Linked DNA regions of Homo sapiens: region 2 is linked to region 1. The links are contacts of gene promoters, found by promoter capture Hi-C in blood cells and fetal thymus (Javierre and others, 2016). All regions are on one chromosome and are shown on one strand. Each heading gives the region's core, a stretch centred on a gene start or on the middle of the fragment in contact. The rest is flanking DNA. Distances are from core to core; before and after follow the strand shown. Region 1 holds the start of CDC37 (cell division cycle 37, HSP90 cochaperone). Region 2 holds the start of SLC44A2 (solute carrier family 44 member 2 (CTL2 blood group)).

Evidence for each region. Contacts are between HindIII fragments. The CHiCAGO score rates a contact against its expected background, and 5 or more counts as called.
Region 2: a contact is called between the fragment with the promoter of SLC44A2 here and the fragment with the promoter of CDC37 in region 1, in 1 of 17 cell types (activated CD4 T cells). The highest score is 5.4, in activated CD4 T cells.

What each region holds. Positions count from the first base shown.
Region 1 is chr19:10,401,971-10,405,353 of GRCh38, reverse strand. CDC37 (cell division cycle 37, HSP90 cochaperone) reads left to right here and starts at 1,812. Exons shown (of 8, transcript NM_007065.4): 1 at 1,812-1,976. The coding sequence starts at 1,875. MIR1181 (microRNA 1181) reads left to right here and starts at 1,816; the gene lies at 1,816-1,896. RefSeq lists silencers at 277-326, 2,037-2,096 and an enhancer at 1,287-1,636. The HindIII fragment of the contact is 3,760 bases long and covers 300-3,383 here.
Region 2 is chr19:10,623,693-10,627,075 of GRCh38, reverse strand. It overlaps SLC44A2 (solute carrier family 44 member 2 (CTL2 blood group)), which reads right to left and starts at 1,523. Exons shown (of 22, transcript NM_020428.4): 1 at 1,406-1,523; 2 at 775-823. The coding sequence starts at 1,442. RefSeq lists an enhancer at 2,484-3,065. The HindIII fragment of the contact is 23,966 bases long and covers 1-3,383 here.

The DNA of each region.
Region 1 (3,383 bases), core at 563-3,062:
GCTTCCGGCGCTCTATCCCCAGTTCTGGAAGCTGAGGCTCCGGGAACCCTGTTTTGCTGAAGCTGGGCAGCTCCAGTCTCCAGAGCCAGGAAGAGACCCCCGCGCCTATCCGGGAATCCCCGACATCTGGGATTCTCTCCAAACACCCCCAGGCTGATGACGGGGCCGAATCCCTAAAGGGCATACGGTGGGGGTGGGGGTACGACTTTCCTGGGGAGCCGGGGAACCCCCTACCTTCCTGGCCCCCTCCCACTGTGGCACCGTGTCCCCCTCCCCACCGCAGCTCGCAGCCCCAAGCTTACCTTGCGGGGGGCCTGGGGAGGGGATGCCCCGCCCTCCCTGGCCTGGGGGGCGGGAGGGGACGGGGGTGTCCAGACCCTTTGTTTGCTGGTGTGTGTGTGTATGTGTGTGTGCGATTGTGAGAGCCGCCGGGGTGTGGGTCCGTGCGCGCGCGTGCCCGGGCCGTGACGGCCACTGATGTGCTGGACTGCCAGGGTGGAGGGGAAGAGGGAGGGGTAGGAGATGGGGACTCCCCCGCCCCTGCCCGCCCACTCGCGGGTTTGAATGAAGCGCGAGGGGGAAGGGCGGCAGCGGGAGGACGTTTTTGTCCGATGGCCCTTCCCGCTCCATGCACCGGGGAATCCTCCCCCTTCTGGAGAACTTCGCTCGCTCTCTCCAGGCACTGCCTCCAACGTCGGCTCCAGGGGAGACTAGGAAGAGGCGCCCCTCACCGGAGTGGCTGGAGCTCCTCCTATCCAGCCTGACCCCCGAGGGAGCACCCTTTAATCTGAGATAATCCTGGCCCAAGGCTGCAACACGGCCTATTATCCTGGTATCAAAGCGTGGATTGGGATGCATGGAAGTGTGAGGTGGTCGAGGCCCTGCATGCTTAGAGTAATGGAGTCCTTAGAGCCCCGGCGGAGGAAGCGTACCCCAAGACGAACGGGGAGGGGCTATGCGTGGCCCCAGACTGTGACGACAAGGAAAGCCCCCTTCCACCCCTCCACGATTCCCCCCACCAAGCGCGGGGCCAGGAATACGCGCCGTGGGCTAGACTCTAGCGACACCCAGCGGCCAGCGGGGTGGGGAGCCGAGACCCGTTTTGAGGGGGTCCGGGTGATTCCAAAGTGTGTGTGTGTGTGTGTGTGCGTGTGTGTGTGTGTGTGTGTGTGTGTGCGCGCGCGCGCTCGCGCGAGTCCTCGCTGCGAATGGCAGGAGGTGGAAGACAAGGAGAAGGCTGTTGCCGAGGCGGGGAAACCCCAGCTCCCAAGGCAGGGCCACAGTCTCCCCTCCACGTTTAACCCTGCAAGGGGAGGGCCATACCACCCCCGATTTAGACACCCCCAGGGCAGGTCCAGTCCTCCTCGGGCTGAGAAAGTCCGAGGAGTCATCAGGCGCCCCTCTCCAGCGCAGGCTTAGGTCCCCGTTTACGAAGGGCAGGGGGAGGGCCTTCCCGCCGTGTCCCTACCCCTTGCAGACGTCACTGCGGCGTGGCTGAGGGGACAGTCCTCTCAGTCTCATCAACCGTCCCCTCCCTGCCACCCCAAACGCCCACCGTGGAGCGGCGGGAGATGAGGGGGGCTCGGAGTTGAAGCGCGCACTCATATGCCCCCAGGAGACCTAGCGGAGCCCCAGCGCCCGATGACGCGGAGTCTCTGCGGGAACTCCAGGGGGCCGGAACACTTACGCAGGGCCCTTTAAGGCTGGCTGGGTAGCTAGTGCCGCTGCCGCGGTTACTAGGGATGTGACGTCACACAGGGCGGGGTTTCCCGCGCTCGGCGGAAGCGGAAGGGGCGGGGCTCCGCGCTCCTAGTCTCCACTGCTGCCGCCGTCGCCGCCACCCGAGCCGGAGCGGGCTGGGCCGCCAAGGCAAGATGGTGGACTACAGCGTGTGGGACCACATTGAGGTGTCTGATGATGAAGACGAGACGCACCCCAACATCGACACGGCCAGTCTCTTCCGCTGGCGGCATCAGGTAAGGCGCGCGCGCCCATCCCTTTCCCCACTCCCGGACCCCGCTTCGGAGTTGTGATCCCCGATACTGCCCAGGGACCCCGCTGTTCACACCTAGGATTCTCACCCCCCCAGTCTGGATTTTCAGGAGCTTCGATTCAACTCCGGGACCCCAGTACCATTGGGACCCTGAGTCCCTGCCCTGGATCTCCGCTCCCCCACTCCCTGCTCCGATTTTTGCGTGGGATTCCCTATTCACCCCCTAGAACTTCTTCATAGTCTGGAGTCCCCTAGACGAGTCTTGGGGGTTCTCCCTAATTCTGTTCGGCAGTTAACATTTATACCCAGAACTCTGCCTCAAAGTTTGGACCCCAAATTCTTCTAGATGATCCCTCATCCTATTCGGGTATTCACTTCCTATCTGGGATCTCCCATCGCCCCCCCACCTCCGTAGTCTGGACCCCCAATACTTTGGTCTGTCCCGGGATCTACTTTCCGGGATCTTGATCCGGGGTTCCCATTCAGATCCGGAGTCGCCACTCCTTTTCTAAACGGAACAAGGAACTCTGTGCTACTCTGATATTCCTGTCCCTGCCCACACCCAGGACCCCCTTCCTAGAGTGTAGAACCGTCCCCCTTCAGGATCCTTAGTCTCACCGAGTACTTGGGTTTTGGAATCTGGTTCCCCTCTGGATCTAACTACCAGCTCCAACCCGATAGAGCCTCACATTCCAGCCTCTCCTTTGGCCTCCGGTAGACCCATTTCCCATTATACCAGGAAATCCTGCCCACGTGGCTTCCGGCCTAGCCAGAGCCCCTGCTCCTACTTGGTATTGCAGACCCTGTCACCACCCACTTCCCAGACTGGCTTCCTGTATGAGCCTCAGCCAGCATTGGAAACTCTCCCCTAACTCAAGCCCAGAACCCCAAACCCACCCCACCTTTTGTCCCCAGCCTGTTAGCTACTCTGTGACCCAAATTGTCCCTGCTCTTATCCAGGGACTCTCCTGGTCTGATTCTAAATTCACCACCCCTTCTTCTATCTGACCACAACAGAGGTCCCGAATCCAGACCCCAGAATCCCAAGCCTGGGTGATCCATGTCCCACCACCCTCTCAGTGCTCACGAGCCAATGGGATGACTAAGACTTAAAGGTTTAACCTCCTGCTACCCCAAATGAGTGTGCCTGCATTACATACCAGTGTCTGTTGTATTCCTTTTTTTTTTTTTTTTTTTTTTTTTGAGACGAAGTTTCCTTCTTGTCGCCCAGGCTGGAGTGCAGTGGCACAATCTTGGCTCACTGCAACCTCTGCCTCCCGGGTTCAAGTGATTCTCCTGCCTCAGCCTCCTGAGTAGCTGGGATTACAGGCATGATGCACCACCATGCCTGGCTAATTTTGTATTTTTGGTAGAGACAGGGTTTCTCCAT
Region 2 (3,383 bases), core at 274-2,773, 220 kb before region 1:
GTGCTGGGATTATAGGTGTGAGCCACCGTGCCTGGCTGTATTTTATTTTTTTGTTATTTTTTTTTGAGACAGAGTCTCGCTCTTGTCCTCCAGGCTGGAGTGCAGTGGCGCAATCTCAGCTTACTGCAACCTCCACCTCCCAGATTCAAGCAATTCTCCTGCCTCAGCCTTCTGAGTAGCCTCTGAGTAGTCACAGCTACTGGAGAGGCTGAGACAGAAGACGTGCTTGAACCAGGAGGGGAAGGTTGCAGTGAGCTGAGATTGCACCACTCCAGCCTGGGTGACAGAGTGAGACTCCATCTCAAAAATAAATAAATAAATAAATAAATATAAACATGGTAAAAATTAAGTCCAGGCCAGGTGTGGTAACTCACACCTGTAATCCCAGCACTTTGGGAGGCCAAGGCAGGTGGATCGCTTTGAGCTCACGAGGTCGAGACCAGCATGGGCAACACAGCGAAACATCTCTGCTAAAAGTACAAAAAAAAAAAAAAATTAGCCAGGTGTGGTGGTGCAAGCCTGTAATCCCAGCTACTTGGGAGACTGAGGTGGGAGAATTGCTCGAACCCGGGAGGCGAAGGTTGCAGTGAGCCGAGATTGAGATCGCGCCACGGCACTCCAGCCTGGTGACAGAGCAAGACTCCATCTCAAAAAAAAAAAAAAGTTTCAAATATTTGTCACCAGTTTGTTGGAGAACAGATGGGAGGGGGTGTGAAGAGACAGGGATTGGGGTAGTATTAGCGGGGAGAACCCCCCAAAACCCAGAGCTCTTACCTATTGTAAATGGGTCCTTTGAAAGTGGGATCATACTTCTGTGGCGTTCCTGAAAGTCAAGAAGATTAAGATGGATGGGATTGGAGACCTGAACCAAGACAGGGCTGGGAGAGCCCCCTCCCAAAAGCCCCTAGGGGTGTCTTTGCCTTGGCAAGAATAAAATTCAGAGACCTGTGGAATTTTCTGCCTCACCCACCTCCAGGTGACCACACCCAAGCCCCCAGTTCTGGCAGGCCAGGACAGGGGAGGAAGGAGGGATCACTAACTGTGAACAAACTTATTAACTGGCGGCCACCCACTGGGAAGAGGGCTGAAATGGTGACCACCACGGAACCAGGTGGAGATGGGGAAGATCTGAGGTGGGATAGGGGGAAGGAGGCGCCGGCAGCAGTGCCAGGCAGAGGGGTACAGGGGCAGGTCCTTCGGGTAGGGGAGAGTAAGGAGGGTCGTCTGCGAGGCTGCGGGGGATAAGTGGGGTGAAGGGGCCTGGCTGATGGTGGGGAGGCTCCAGGCGCAGATTTGCAATTGCGCTCCCCCTCCAGCCCCCTTCCCTGCGCCCCATGTTCTCTCAAGGCCCCCTCCGAGGGACCGAGGGGTCGGCCCGGGGCTACGGGCGGGGGTCGCTGCCTACCGTGTTTCCCGTAGTAGTGGGGCCGCTCGTCCCCCATCCCTGCAGGCGACCAGCCCCGGCGGCCGCCCGCGCTCTCTCCCGCGCCCCCTCGACCCTCCCGAGTCTGGAGGGAGGCACTGACCGCGCGACTGGCGGCGGCTCCTCCCAGCACAGCGCCAGGCGGGGCGGCCCAAACCGGTCAGACCGGCCCGAGCTGGGCAGCTGCCCAGACTAAGGGACCCGGGAGGGCGCGGGCGGGGCTGCAGCTGCTCCCGCCACTCACCGGCCGGCCGCATTTAGCCTTCCCCGCCCCCACCCGGGAACCCTGCGGCTTCACCCTGGGAACACCCTGCCACCGGGCGATGCCGCCTAGAACCCCTGGCCACCCTGAAAGGGCGTTTCCGTGGCTTCGTTTTGCAGGTGTGGAAACTGAGGCACTGGGAGGGAAAACGGCCTACTGCCCAAACCCAGACAACCAACTGTGGAATGTTGGTGCTGAAAACTTCTCCAAGCTGTGCAGGAAATTAGTTTTCTTTCTGTCTGCTGCTTTTTTTTTTTGAGACAGGATCTCCCTCTGTTGCCCAGGCTGGAGTGCAGTGGTGCAATCACAGCTCATCGCAGTCTCGACCTCCCTGCCTCAAGCCATCCTCCTGACTAAGCCTCCTGAGTAGCTGGGACTACAGGTGCTCTACTGCACTCGGCTAATTTTTAATTTTTTTTGTAGAGATGGGATGTTGCTATGTTGCCCAGGCTCATCTTTAACTCCTGGACTCGTGGGCTCCTCCCACCGTGGCCCCCCAAAGTGCTGGGATTACCTGCGTGCACTACTGGGCCTGGTCTTAGAACAAGTATTTATTCAGCCCTTAGTGGGTGCAGGCCTTGGGCGGGGCACCGCATACAGTGAGGAACCAGAGAGACCCAATCTCCACCCTTGTGGAGCCCACATCCTCCTGGGTCGCCCTGAATTCAAATGCTCCTTCTGCACCCTCTGAACTAGAGGATACTTAACAAAGGGCTTATCTTCCTTAAGCCTCAGTTTCCTCAACTGCAAAATGAGGCTAAAGTATGAAACCAAAACTGACCTCAAAGAGCAGGCATAGGCCAGGTGCAGTGGCTCATGCCTGTAATCCCAGCACTCTGGGAGGCTGAGGCAGGTCGATCAGGATTTCTAAGCCAGCCTGGCCAACATGGTGAAACCCCTTCTCTACTAAAAATACAAACATTAGCCAGTGTGGTGGCACATGCCTGTAATCCCAGCTACTTGGGAAGCTGAGGCAGGAGAATCGCTTAAACCCAGGAGGTGGAGGTTGCAGTGAGCCAAGATTGCCTCACTGCACTCCAACCTGGGGGACAGAGTGAGACTCTGTCTCCAAAAAGAAAAAGAAAAAAGAAAATAGGCTGGGTGTGGTGGCTAACACCTATAATCCCAGCACTTTGGGAGGCCGAGGTGGGCGGATCATGAGGTCAAGAGATCGAGACCATCCTGGCCAACTTGGTGAAACCCCGTCTGTACTAAAAATACAAAAATTAGCTGGATGTTGTGGTGTGCACCTGTAGTCCCAGCTACTTGGGAGGCTGAGGCAGGAGAATCACTTCAACCCGAGAGGCGGAGGTTGCAATGAGCCGAGATCGTGCCACTGCACTCCAGCCTGGGTGACAGAGCGAGTGTCTCAAAAAATCAATCAATCAATAAATCAAAAATTAGCCGGGTGTGGTGGTTCATGCCTGTAATCCCAGCACTGTGGGAGGCCGAGGCGGGCAGATCACTGAGGTCAGGAGTTCAAGACCAGCCTGGCCAACAAGGCAAAACCCTGTCTGTACTAAAAATACAAAAATTAGCCAGGTGTGGTGGTGGGCACCTGTAATCCCAGCTACTGGGGAGGCTGAAGTAGGAGAATCGTTTGAACCTGGGAGGTAGAGGTTGCAGTGAGCCGAGATTATGCCACTGTACTCCAGCCTGGGCGACAGAGCGAGACTCCGCCTCAAAAAAAAAAAAAAA